Regions from separate parts of the Homo sapiens genome. Here region 2 is linked to region 1. The links are contacts of gene promoters, found by promoter capture Hi-C in blood cells and fetal thymus (Javierre and others, 2016). All regions are on one chromosome and are shown on one strand. The core of a region is centred on a gene start or on the middle of the fragment in contact, and the rest is flanking DNA. Distances in the headings are between cores, read along the strand shown. Region 1 holds the start of MRPS21 (mitochondrial ribosomal protein S21). Region 2 overlaps OTUD7B (OTU deubiquitinase 7B).

What was found. Contacts are between HindIII fragments. The CHiCAGO score rates a contact against its expected background, and 5 or more counts as called.
Region 2: a contact is called between a fragment that was not itself captured here and the fragment with the promoter of MRPS21 in region 1, in 3 of 17 cell types (naive B cells, neutrophils and M1 macrophages). The highest score is 6.2, in naive B cells.

The regions. Positions count from the first base shown.
Region 1 is chr1:150,291,034-150,297,622 of GRCh38, forward strand. MRPS21 (mitochondrial ribosomal protein S21) reads left to right here and starts at 2,828. Exons shown (of 3, transcript NM_031901.6): 1 at 2,828-2,865; 2 at 3,302-3,416. The coding sequence starts at 3,334. LOC105371434 (a long non-coding RNA gene) reads right to left here and starts at 2,787. Exons shown (of 2, transcript XR_922129.4): 1 at 2,599-2,787; 2 at 2,267-2,464. RefSeq lists enhancers at 3,116-3,175, 6,009-6,566. The HindIII fragment of the contact is 15,404 bases long and covers 1-4,778 here.
Region 2 is chr1:149,955,518-149,962,628 of GRCh38, forward strand. It overlaps OTUD7B (OTU deubiquitinase 7B), which reads right to left. Exons shown (of 12, transcript NM_020205.4): 7 at 4,167-4,279. Among named protein-coding and RNA genes, the nearest start is that of MTMR11, 22 kb to the left of the region's middle. The HindIII fragment of the contact is 2,620 bases long and covers 4,221-6,840 here.

The sequences.
Region 1 (6,589 bases), core at 1,578-4,077:
AAAATACCTAGTGCAGGGTTTGGGGCCTGGTGGGGTGGCTCACACTTGTAATCCTAGCACTTTGGGAGACCAGCCTGGACAACATAGTGAAACTATTAAAAATACAAAAAATTAGTCTCTACTAAAAATACAAAAAATTAGCTAGGCGTAGTGGCATGTCCCTGTAATCCCAGCTACTCGGGAGGCTGAGGTGGAAGGATCACCTGAGCTCAGGAGGTCCAGGCTACAGTGAGCTATGATGGTGCCACTGCATTCTAGCCTGGGCAACAAGAGTGAGACTCTGTTTCAGAAAAACAAAAACAAAAATAAAAAACACCCACCTAGTACAGGGTTTAGTATATAGTAGGCTCTCAAAAATGTTACTCTCCAGCTGATCCAATGGTAGTGGTTAACAGAACTTATTAACATCAGTTCCTGTCTCCCTTCCTTTCTTTCAAAGTATCTTCATATTTTTTTTCTCTTTTTTTTTTTTTTTTTTTTGGAGACAGAGTCTCGCTCTGTCACCCAGGCTGGAGTGCAGTGGCACCATCTCAGCTCACTGCAACCTCCACCTCCAGGGTTCAAGTGATTCTCTTGCCTCAGCCTCCCAAGTAGCTGAGACTACAGGCGAGCGCCGCCACGCCCAGCTGATCTTTTGTATTTTTAGTAGAGACGGGGTTTCACTGTGTTAGCCAGGATGGTCTCGATCTCCTGACCTCGTGATCCACCCGCCTCAGCCTCCCAAAGTGCTGGGATTACAGGCGTGAGCCACCGTGCCCGGCATATCTTCATATTTTATTCTATTTGATTCCCATGACAAATTTCGTGAGACTGAACAGGGCAAAATTAGTCCCATTTTAGAGATGAGGAAATAGAGTGAGTCTGGCAAGGGCCAGATAGTAAATATTTTAGGCTTTGTAGGCTTTATGTCTCTATTGCAACTACCCAATTCGGCCATCGTAGCCCAAAGCAGCCATACATAACACACAGTCAAATAAGCATGACTGTAGGTCAACAGCCTTATTTACAAAAACAGGTGGAGCAGGATTTGACCTGTAAACTGTAGTCTCCAGACCCCTGGTTTTAAATGACTTCTTCAAGGTCATAGGCCTGATGAGTATTAGAATTGGGATAGAATCCAGATCTCCCAACTTTGAAGCCAGTGCCTTTCACCACATTATGCTGTGGCATATTTTATTTATTATTTGTTTGTTTATTTATTTTTTGAAATGGAGTTTCACTCTTGTTGCCCAGGCTGGAGTGCAATGGTGCGATCTCGGCTCACTGCCACCTCCGCCTCCCAGGTTCATGTGATTCTCCTGCCTCAGCCTCCCAAGCAGCTGGGATTACAGGCATGTGGCACCACGCCTGGCTAATTTTGTATTTTTAGTAGAGACAGGGTTTCACCATGTTGGCCAGGCTGGTCTCAAACTCCTGACCTCAGGTGATCTACCCGCCTCAGCCTCCCAAAGTGCTGGGATTACAGGCGTGCGCCACCGCGCCTGGCCCTATTTATTTATTTATTCATTTTTAATTTTTTGAGACAGGGTCTCACTCTATTGCCCAGGCCAGGGTGCAGTGGTGTGATCAAAGCTCGCTGCAGCCTTGACCTTCCAGGCTCAGGTGATCCTCCCCCTCAGCCTCCCAAGTAGCTAGGACAACAGGCCATGCCACTACACCCGGCTAATTTCTATATTTTTTGTAAAGACGGAGTTTTGCTTTGTTGCCCAGGCTGGTCTCGAACTTCTGGGCTCAAGTGATCCGCCTGCCTTGGCCTCCCAAAGTGCTGGGATTACAGGTGTGAGCCACCGCGTCCAGCCCATATAATTTATTTTGCATTTATTATATACTACTTTGTTTTAGTATCTTTTATGTGGTCCTAGTGGTCCAGGAGGCACTAGAGTGGTATCAACAGTATCTGACACAGAGTAGTCATTCAGTGAAAGTTTGTTGACAAGCATAATAATGTCCCAATCTAGTTCTATTTCGTTACTTTGGACCTGGCTTACTCTGAGGTGGGCTTAAGTGTTAGTGTAAGTTATTAGCATCAACTGATGATGCACACGTCTGTGTCTGTGTCTGTGTGTGTGTGTGTGTGCGTGAGCGTGCGCGCGCACTCTCTCTCTAAGGGAGGTACGTTTTCCTACAGCCATTAGATGTTAACTTACGTGAATAACCATAAATGGATATGTACAGGTAGCATACAAATAGGAGGACGGGTGTCTCCACAGCGAAGAAGAAATTTAAAAGGAGGTTTTTCAGTAGGTCTCATTAGCACGAAAAGGCATAGAAGCTGACATAATTTTTTATTCTAAACCCTGCAGGTGTTTCCCATATATCTTTATTGATTTCACTTTATGTAGTTAAATTAGTGGGAAGATGATATAGGAAACTCACAGTATGTTTATTTCTTTTCCTTAGCACTTAGGCAGATGACGTGTATGAATCAATCTATTTTTCGTCCGGAGAGCAGATCTCAAAGAGTCTGTCCTTTCCAAAGAGAAAACAGGAAGCATCCTCAGGAAGCGCCTACTTCTCTTGTTTTCCATCGAGAAAGAGAAATGGCTCAAATATTTATCAAGGATTTCACAGGATTAAGGGGTATGAAATTGGGCTGACCTTCTCAGAGGCCGAAGGACTTCGACTCCATGAGAGGGCGAGAAACGTGTTTCGGGGGAATTTAAGTCAATGAGTATTTTGCTTTGTCAGGTGTAGAGTCCAGGCCCGGGGAAGAGAGGCAGTCAACAGAGGCCAGAAAGGACGTTGCTATGGTTTCCACGCACGTTGTCTCCCTCGGCCTGTTTCTTTGCGCGGCGCTGGCGATTCCGTAATTTCCGCTTCCGGTAGTGAGAACCCTTCCGGTGGGCTAGGTACTGAGCGCGCGAGGTGAGGAGTTGTGCAGGGTTTGGGGAAAGGAAGGCTGGCTTGGCGAGAGGGCAGGTTTGCGGGCTTTCGCCCCCTTTTCCAAAGACCAACAAAGAGTCCTTCCCCAACTCCCAACTCAACCCCTTTTGGAACTATGTGTGGTGGTTGGGACCCTGTGGCGCATCCTTGTCGCTCGTGTCCTTCTCATGCCCGGCGACGCGTCTTTGTGGTAACGCCCTGCTGCCATCTCTTTTCTTCTCTATGCGAGGATTTGGACTGGCAGTGAGAATAAGAGACAACGATTCACGTCTACTTTCTAGGATGACTTCCATGTGCTCCATCTCGCGCGTCCCTGAGCATGTTGAATTTCCAAATCCTAAATAAGCCGCGCGGTGTAGTTTGTATTATGTTGCGTTTCTCTTTCTGCTTTCCTCGCCCTTTCTCCATCATCCTTTAGGCTCTACAGAGTGAAGGTTTAAATCCAAGGTCATGGCAAAACATCTGAAGTTCATCGCCAGGACTGTGATGGTACAGGAAGGGAACGTGGAAAGCGCATACAGGACCCTAAACAGGTAACTGTTAAGGGACCAGAATCATGCCTAGACTCTCTGGGAAGTGCGGTGGTTATTCTCTCCCTTCCCCTTTCGTTGATTGTTCTCAAAACAGTGCCAGCCCAGGTGTTCACAGTCTCTTAAAACGTCTCAGCCCCTCAGTTTATTATCTTAAAAATGAAGTTCTGGGCCGGGCGCGGTGGCTCACGCCTGTAATCCCAGCACTTTGGGAGGCCGAGGCGGGTGGATCACATGCGGTCAGGAGTTTCAGACCAGCCTGGCCAACATGGTGAAACCGTGTCTCTACTAAAAATACAAAAATTAGCCGGGCGTGGTGGCAAACGCCTGTAATCTCAGCTACTCGAGAGCTGAGGCAGGAGAATCGCTTGAACCCGGGAGGCAGAGGTTGTAGTGAGCCAAGATCGAGCCACTTGCACTCCAGCCTGGGCAAGAGTGAGACTCTATCTCAAAAAAAAAGAAAAAAAGTTCTTCCTCAAACCTAACTGTATGAATTGTATTCAACAAGTAATCACCCCCCGCACCTCCCCGCTTTTAATTTTAATTTTAATTTTTTTTTTTTTTTTTGAGGCAGAGTCTCGCTCTGTCACCCAGGCTGGAGTGCAGCGGCACGATCTCGGCTCACTGCAAGCTCCGCTTCCTGGGTTCACGCCATTCTCCTGCCTCAGCCTCCTGAGCAGCCAGTACTACAGGCTCCCGCCACCACGCCCGGTTAATTTTTGTATTTATAGTAGAGATGGGGTTTCACCGTGTTGGCCAGGATGGTCTTGATCTCCTGACCTCAAGTGATCTGCCTGCCTCTGCCTCCCAAAGTGCTAGGATTACAGGCGTAAGCCACAGCGCCCGGCCCCGCTTTTTAAAAATTGAGACAGGGTCTTGCTGTGTCACTCAACAATCCTCCTGCCTCAGTCTCCTGACTAGCTGGGTCTAGTGACGCACGCCACCACCGCAGTTAATTTTTGTATTTTCTGTACAGAGGGAGTCTCGCCATGTTGCCCAAGCGTAATGACTCCTTTTATGAGGAACCTGAATTCTTTAGAAGACTTAAAAAAGAGCCCAAATGGAAAATCAAGATGTGAAGTTGCTAGGAAGCGGGAACGTAGTATGATAAATAGAAAGCTGAGGGAGTGATTGGTGTGGGACAAAGCTAAAGGAAAAGGTGAATTCAGATTGGCATCCTAGAGAAGCAGGCAAAAGATGGGAAAGCTCACTGGGTGGGATGACTCACACCTGTAATCCTAGCACTTTGGGAAGCCTAGTGGGGAGGATTGCTTGTTGCCAAGAGTTCAAGACCAATCTGGTAAACATAGCAAGACCCCATTTCTAAAAATATTAAGAAGAAAGGGAAAAAAAGAAAGATGGGAAAGCTTACAAGTTTTCAGGAAAGATACAGCATAAGGAAAAATACATAAATGGAAACAAACTAGCTGGGGTGGAGGAGCTTTATAGCTTCATTGAAAATTTTTGAATGCCAGGCTAAGAGATGTAGAAGAGCCCTAGTAATACTTTTTTTTTTTTTTTTTTAAAACGGAGTCTTGCTCTGTTGCCAGGCTGGAGCGCAGTGGTGCAGTCTCGGCTCACTGCAGCCTCCGCCTCCTGGGTTCAATTGACTCTTCTGCCTCAGTCTCCTGAGTAGCTGGGACTACAGGTGCCCACCACCACGCCTGGCTGATTTTTGTATTTTTAGTAGAGAGGGTTTCACCACGTTAGCCAAGATGGTCTCAATCTCTTGACCTCGTGATCCACCCGCCTTGGCCTCCCAAAGTGCTGGGATTACAGGCATGAGCCACTGCATCCGGCCCAGCCCTAGTAGTACTTTACCACTGAATTCTCAAGCAAAAAGTTCTTAACCTTCCCTTCTCACCAGTTGTGTGGATTTTGACTTTCTGGTATGACTCACGCGTCATTTTCTTTCCCCAATGTGAAGTAACATTTGGAGAAACAAACGCTTGTTGAGTTGAATTATCAAAGAATTGTAAGGAAGGGGCTCCTGTAGTGCTAGCTGCTCCAGAGGCTGAGGCAAGAGGATTGCTTGAACCCAGGAGTTCAAGACTGTAGTGTGAGTGCACTCTTGTTGTGCCTGTGAATAACCACTCCACTCTAACCTAGGAAGCATAGTGAGACCATGTCTCTTAAAAAAAATGTAGGAAAGATATTGCATGGGCTGCATTAAGGCCTTTAATGTGGTAGCTTTATTTCACAAGTAAGGGAAGCCTTGGAAGATCAGATTATCTTTATTGGGTTATGCAGTTATTGAATGGTGGAGAGGAGCCTAAAGCACATCTTTTTAGTGCAATGTTCTTTAATAATTATTACTAGTCTTACTAGAAATGGAAAGACTTATGGTGGTTCATTTTCCAATTTAGAATCCTTGTCTTGTCATTTCAGCAGGTGTCGCTTTAAAAAAAAAACCAGAATCCTCATCTGATTGGGTTTAAATATTGGTAGGGTTCTTGAGGACTGAGAGGGCAAAGGAAAGGGAACCTAGTTCTTAGCAAAGCAGAGAGTTCTAGGTGTGGAAGGCTGGATGGCAGAAGACCACAGTGAGGAAAAAAATGCTGTCAGCCGGGCGCGGTGGCTCACGCCTGTAATCCCAGCACTTTGGGAGGCCAAGGCGGGCGGATCACGAGGTCAGGACATCGAGACCATCCTGGCTAACACGGTGAAACCCCGTCTCTACTAAAAATACAAAAGATTAGCCGGGCGTGGTGGCACACACCTGTAGTCCCAGCTACTGAGGAGGCTGAGACAGGAGAATCGCTTGAACCCGGGAGGAGGAGGTTGCAGTGAGCCGAGAGCGTGCCACTACACTCCAGCCTGGGCAACAGAGCGAGACTCTGTCTACAAAAAAAAAAAGAAAAAATGCTGTCAGAAGCTGTGTAAATGAGAAGCAGTTGCAGGCTCAGAATGGTTTCTATGTCTTTTAAAAGGATCTGGTCTTAGGGTCAGGCGTGGTGGCTCATGCCTGTAATCCCAGCACTTTGGGAGGTTCAGGCGGGTGGATCACCTGAGGTCAGGAGTTCAATACCAGCCTGGCCAACATAGCGAAACCCTGTCTCTACTAAAAATACAAAATTAGCCATATGTGGTGGCAGGCGCCTGTAATCTCAGCTACTTGGGAGGCTGAGGCAGGAGAATCACTTGAACCTGGGAAATAGAGGCTGCAGTGAGCCAGA
Region 2 (7,111 bases), core at 4,281-6,780, 330 kb before region 1:
GTTGATTTGGGGTGAAGAGTTCTGTAGATGTCTATTAGGTCTGCTTGGTGCAGAGCTGAGTTCAAGTCCTGGATATCCTTTTTAACTTTCTGTCTCGTTGATCTCTCTAATGTTGACAGTGGGGTGTTAAAGTCTCCCATTATTATTGTGTGGGAGTCTAAGTCTCTCTGTAGGTCTCTAAGGACTTGCTTTATGAATCTCGGTGCTCCTGTATTGGGTGCATATATATTTAAGATAGCTCTTCCTGTTGAATTGATCCCTTTACCATTATGTAATGGCCTTGTCTCTTTTGATCTTTGTTGGTTTAAAGTCTGTTTTATCAGAGACTAGGATTGCAACCCCTGCTTTTTTTTGTTTTCCATTTGCTTGGTAGATCTTCCTCCATCCCTTTATTTTGAGCCTATGTGTGTCTCTGCACCTGAGATGGGTCTCCTGAATATCGCACACTGATGGGTCTTGACTCTTTATCCAATTTGCCAGTCTGTGTCTTTTTAATTGGAGCATTTAGCCCATTTACATTTAAGGTTAATACTGTTATGTGTGAATTTGATCCTGTCATTATGATGTTAGCTGGTTATTTTGCTCGTTAGTTGATGCAGTTTCTTCCTAGCATCGATGGTCTTTAAATTTGGCATGTTTTTGCAGTGGCTGGTATCGGTTGTTCCTTTCCATGTTTAGTGCTTCTTTCAGGAGCTCTTGTAAGGCAGGCCTGGTGGTGACAAAATCTCTCAGCATTTGCGTGTCTGTAAAGGATTTTATTTCTCCTTCACTTATGAAGCTTAGTTTGGCTGGATACGAAATTCTGGGTTGAAAATTCTTTTCTTTAAGACTGTTGAATATTGGCCCCCACGCTCTTCTGGCTTGCAGAGTTTCTGCCGAGAGATCTGCTGTTAGTCTGATGGGCTTCCCTTTGTGGGTAACCCGACCTTTCTCTCTGGCTGCCCTTAGCATTTTTTCCTTCATTTCAACTTTGGGAATCTGACAATTATGTATTTCAGAGTTGCTCTTCTCAAGGAGTATCTTTGTGGCGTTCTCTGTATTCCCTGAATTTGAATGTCGGCCTGCCTTGCTAGGTTGGGGAAGTTCTCCTGTATAATATCCCGAAGAGTGTTTTCCAACTTGGTTCCATTCTCCCCGTCACTTTCAGGTACACCAATCAGACATAGATTTGGTCTTTTCACATAGTCCCATATTTCTTTGAGGATTTGTTTGTTTCTTTTTACTCTTTTTTCTCTGAACTTCTCTTCTCACTTCATTTCATTCATTTGATCTTCAATCACTGATACCCTTTCTTCCACTTGATTGAATCAGCTACTGAAGCTTGTGCACGCGTCACATAGTTCTTATGCCATGGTTTTCAGCTCCATCAGGTCGTTTAAGGTCTTCTCTATGCTGTTTATTCTAGTTAGCCATTCGTCTAATCTTTTTTCAAGGTTTTTAGCTTCTTTGCGATGGGTTCGAACATCCTCCTTTAGCTCAGAGTTTGTTATTACCGATCGTCTGAAGCCTTCTTCTCTCAACTCGTCAAAGTCATTCTCCGTCCAGCTTTGTTCTGTTGCTGGTGAGGAGCTGCGTTCCTTTGGAGGAGAAGAGGCACTCTGATTTTTAGAATTTTCAGCTTTTCTGCTCTGGTTTCTCCCCATCTTTGTGGTTTTATCTACCTTTGGTCTTTGATGATGGTGACATACAGATGGGGTATTGGTGTGGATGTCCTTTCTGTTAGTTTTCCTTCTAACAGTCAGGACCCTCAGCTGCAGGTCTGTTGGAGTTTGCTGGAGGTCCACTCCAGACCCTGTTTGCCTGGGTATCACCAGTGGAGGCTGCAGAACAGCAAATATTGCAGAACGGCAAATGTTGCTGCCTGATCCTTTCTCTGGAAGCTTCATCTCAGAGGGGCACCCGGCTGTATAAGATGTCAGTCAGCCCCTACTGGGAGGTGTCTCCCAATTAGGCTACTCGGGGGTCAGGGACCCACTTGAGGAGGCAGTCTGTCCGTTCTCAGATCTCAAACCGCGTGCTGGGAGAACCACTACTCTCTTCAAAGCTGTCAGACAGGGACGTTTAAGTCTGCAGAAGTTCCTGCTACCTTTTGTTCAGCTATGCCCTGCCGCCAGAGGTGGAGTCTACAGAGGCAGGCAGGCCTCCTTGAGCTGCAGTGGGCTCCACCCAGTTCGAGCTTCCCGGCCGCTTTGTTTACCTACTCAAGCCTCAGCAATGGCGGACGCCCCTCTCCCAGCCTCACTGCCTCCTTGCAGTTCTATCTCAGACTGCTGTGCTAGCAGTGAGCAAGCCTCCGCAGGCATGGGACCCTCCGAGCCAGGCACGGGATATAATCTCCTGGTGTGCCATTTGCTAAGACCGTTGGAAAAGGGCAGTATTAGGGTGGGAATGTCCCGATTTTCCAGGTACCGTCTGTCACGGCTTCCCTTGGCTAGGAAAGGGAATTCTCCAACTCCTTGTGCTTCCCAGGTGAGGCAATGCCCCGCCCTGCTTCGGCTCACGCTCCGTGGGCTATACCCACTGTCCAACAAGCCCTACTGAGATGAACCCGGTACCTCAGTTGGAAATGCAGAAATCATCCCTCTTCTGCGTCACTCATGCTGGGAGCTGTAGACTGGAGCTGTTCCTATTTGGCCATCTTCAACACTTGGTCAATCTTGTTTTACTACACCTCAGATCTATTTACCTACCTCCCCCATCACGGGGCTACCACCAGAGAATTTTGAAGCAAATCCTGGACATTATATAATTTCATCCATTTTTATTTTATTTCAGTTTCTATCTCTAAAAACATAAAGGACTACCTTTTTTTTTTTTTTTTTTTTTTTGAAATGGAGTCTCACTCTGTCGCCAGGGCTGGAGTGCAGTGGCACGAACTCGGCTGACTACAACCTCTGCTTCCTGGGTTCAAGCAATTCTCCTGCCTCAGCCTCTCGAGTAGCTGGGATTACAGCCGCCTAGCACCACGCCCAGCTAATTTTTTGTATTTTCAGTAGAGACAGGGTTTCACCACATTGGCCAGGCTGGTCTCGAATTCCCGCCCACCTCGGCCTCCCAAAGTTCTGGGATTACAGGCGTGAGCCACTGCGCCTGGCCAGGACTACCTTTTTAAACAACCACTATACCATTAATATCACATTTTATAATTTTAACAATAATCAAACACAGAGACATTGTTCACATTTCCTTAATTGTCTTATGATGTCCACACATCCCAACTGGTTGATGTCTTTTTTTTCTTTTAGAGACAGAGGTCTCTCTTTGTCACCCAGGCTGGAGTGCAGGGGTGCTGTCACAACTCACTGCAGCCTCGACCTCCCCAGCTCAGGCAATCCTCCCACCTCAGCCTCCCAAGTAGCTGGGACTATAGGCATGCACCACCATGCCTGGCTAATTTTTTTTTTTTAAGATGTGGTCTCACTGGCCAGGCATGGTGGCTCATGCTTGTAATCCCAGCACTTTGGGAGGCCAAGGTGGGTGGATCACTTGAGGCCAGGAGTTTGAGATCACCCTGGCCAAAATGGTGAAACCCCGTCTCTAATAAAAATACAAAAATTAGCTGGGCGTGGTGGCATGCATCTGTAGTCCCAGCTACTTGGGAGGCTGAAACAGAGAATCACTTGAACCCTGAAGGCAGAGGTTGCAGTGAGCAGAGATCACACCACTGCACTCCAGCCTGGGCAACAAAGTAAGACTCTGTCTCAAAAAAAAAAGAAAAAAAAGAAAGAAAAAGAAAGGGGGTCTCACTATGTTACCCAGGCTGGTTTCGAACTCCTGGGCTCACACGATCCTCCTGCCTCAGCCTTTCAAAGTGCTGAGATTACAGGTGTGAGACACCACACCCGGCCTGATATGTCTTTTTAGTCCATTTAAACCTACAAGTTCCTGGTCCCTTTTTATTTTCCTTGCAGTTTACTTACTGAAGATACTGGGTCATTTGTCCTGAAGTTTCCAAAGTCTAGATGGGCTACTTTATATTCCAGTTCAATACCGAACTACCTGTAGTTCCTAAACATATCATGTTGTTACACACTTTTGTGCCCTTAGCATAGTTCCCCTCTTTCCTTCTAATATCCTCTTAGCACAGAGCTCTCTAGACACTGGGCTGTGGAAGCCCAGTGAGGACTCTATGCAGGTTTCCTCCTCCCCTACTTAGCCATACTTACCCACCACAGTTGGCTCCATTGGTACCTAGATGCATTCGGGGTTCACTTGAGGCAAGCTTGATCAGTTCATTCCACTCCTTCTGCCATTCATCTTCTGTGTATACCAGCCCTGACTGTGTGAAGGACAGGCAGGGGACATTGGGCAATTAGAGGCTGGGTTCTAAGAGGCAATACCTATTCCACCTTATTCACTGTTACTTACTCCCTAATCCCTTAGCACTTGGTTTACAAATTGTACTACAAAGTCAAATCTCTTATCTCTTTTACAGTCAAGATCCATGAACTAATAGTCTATGACTATTAAACTTCTTTATCATCCATTCTTTTTGACCTACTGCAATCTGTCCCATTTCTGCCCTCCATCCTGCTCACCCACCTGCCACATAACATTTCACCTACCTGATTTTGGCAAAGAACAATGACCTTCTAATTGCCACATTCAGTGGACCCTGGTTCCCATCTTAGCCTTCACATGGGTTATTTTCCTCTTTAAATTTTCTTTGCCATTAGCGTCCATAAAATTACTTTCTATTCCTCTAAATTCTGTCTGCCCCCAAAATACTAGTGGTGTGTCAATGATTTTCACCTTGGTTCCCTCTGGGTGATCTCTTCTACTGCCATAATCTCATCCACTACCATCTGTATGGTATATACCATCTATCTCCAGCCCAGATTTCTTAATTTCTTTTCTTTTTCTTTTCTTTCCTTTTTTTCTTTTTTTTTTTTTTGTAGACAGAGTCACCCAGGCTGGAGTGCAATGGCACAATCTCGGCTCACTGCAAACTTCACCTCCCGGGTTCAAATGCTTCTCCTGCCTCAGCCTCTCGAGTAGCTGGGATTACAGCACCCACCACCAGGCCCAGCTAATTTTTGTATTTTTAGTAGAGACGGGCTTTCCCCATGTTGGCCAGGCTGGTCTCGAACTCCTGACCTGGTGATCTGCCTGTCTCAGCCACCCAAAATGCTGGGATTACAGGCATGAGGCACTGCACTCAGCCTAGACTTCTTAATTTCTATATTCATATATCCAGCTACCTACTGGAGACTGCCACCTGCCCATGGCTACCTCAAACTCTGTAAAGTCAAAATAGAACTCCTGTTTTTTCCCAAACCCACTCTTCTTCCTATTTTCCTACCTTAGTGAATAGCACCAACTATCACCCAAACATCCAAGCTCAAAACCAAGGAATTATCTAATATTCCTTTCTTTCTTTCACCCACCCCACACCTGGATACCTTCTTTTTTTTTTTTTTTTTTTTTGAGACAGAGTCTCACTCTGTCGCCCAGGCTGGAGTACAGTGGAACGATCTCAGCTCACTGCAACCTCCACCTCCCGGGTTCAAGCAATTCTCCTGCCTCAGCCTCCCAAGTAGAAGTGCTGCATACAAAGCCTACTTTCTGGCCCCTACCCACTTCTCTAGTCAGATATATCTCACTGAATCAGCTGTAGTTCCTGAAATATACCATGTTGTTTTATACCACTGAGCTTTTGTCTAAGCTGTTCCTTCTGCCTGGAGTAGCTCACTTTCTGTCAACCTTGTGAACAATTTCTCAACTTTTAGGACAGAACTCAGGTATCATTCCTCCAAATAGTCTTCTAAATCTCCCTTGGCAGATCAACCACTCCTTCCTTTGTATCCTCTCTCCCTAACTGCTATAGAGTTGTTGTTGTTTTTTTGTTTGTTTGTTTGAGACAAAGTCTTGCTCTGTCACCCAGGATGGAGTGTGGTGGCATGATCTTGGCTCACTGCAACCTCCACCTCCCAGGTTCAAGCAATTCTCCTGCCTCAGCCTCCGGAGTAGCTGGGACTACACGTGCACACCACCATGCCTGGCTAGTTTTGTATTTTTAGTAAAGACGGGGTTTCACCATGTTGGCCAGGCTGGTCTCGAACTACCAACAGGTGATCCGCCTGCCTTGGCCTTCCAAAGTGCTGGGATTACAGGCATGAGCCACCGCATCCGGCCAGCATTAACTGCTATAGAGACGTCTATTGTAAGAGTCATACATGTTATAACCTGTTGCAATTATGTATTTACATGTCCATCTCCTCCTCTATGCTAGGATCATGTTTTATGCAATACACCCAAGGTCTATTTTGTGACTATAATCAATAAACATATGCTAAGTGAAACTACAATTTTTATCAAAGGAGAGCAGGCAATGGTACAAGCAATTTTAAAATACATTGGCTTTAGGATGTATATAATGATAAGGGAAATAAGTTTAACTTATTAATTTTATTTGGCTGACATTAGTATTAAAATGAGTCTATACGGCTTAACCGCACACTGACAGAGTAGAAGGAAATCACTGGAAACATGAGGGGTACTGGGAACAAATTTAATGGGAATTTTTTAAATGACACAGCTATTTTCAATTTGTAAAATGCTATCACAAATTTTACTTCAATTAAAAATAAAGAGAGCAATGCCCAGGTTCTATATGGAGTGCTGCAGTCACTCCAATAGACACATCCAGATCCGGCTCCCTCTTCCTGGCCGGTTTCTGCTTCCTGTTTTAATGTACACAGCCACTAGGTGGTGTACAACTTCTAGCCTTAACATTTAAGAAACTATTACTGAGCCTCACCACCAATTTCAACATAAAACAAGGAAGCCCAGGAAATCAAAACTTATTTAGTGTGGTTTTGGTACTGGGGAGCTAAAGGAAGCTTCCCCAGTTCATTATCCTCCTCCTACCATTCCCACTCCCAAGGTGGGTAATAATGCTATGAATGGTCTAAGCTAAGACAATTATGAAAGCCACATTTTCAGTATGAACTTTCACTGTGCTGAGCAAAAGGACTAAAACTATTGCTCCATTACTAGCCACTATTCTCTATGCATGTTGGGGACTTTCAGATGGAAAGGCTGACTTTGAGAGGGAAAGGCTGGCTGGCCAAGGATAGAACGTGGGTATTTCTGGGTTTCCTGGCTAAAT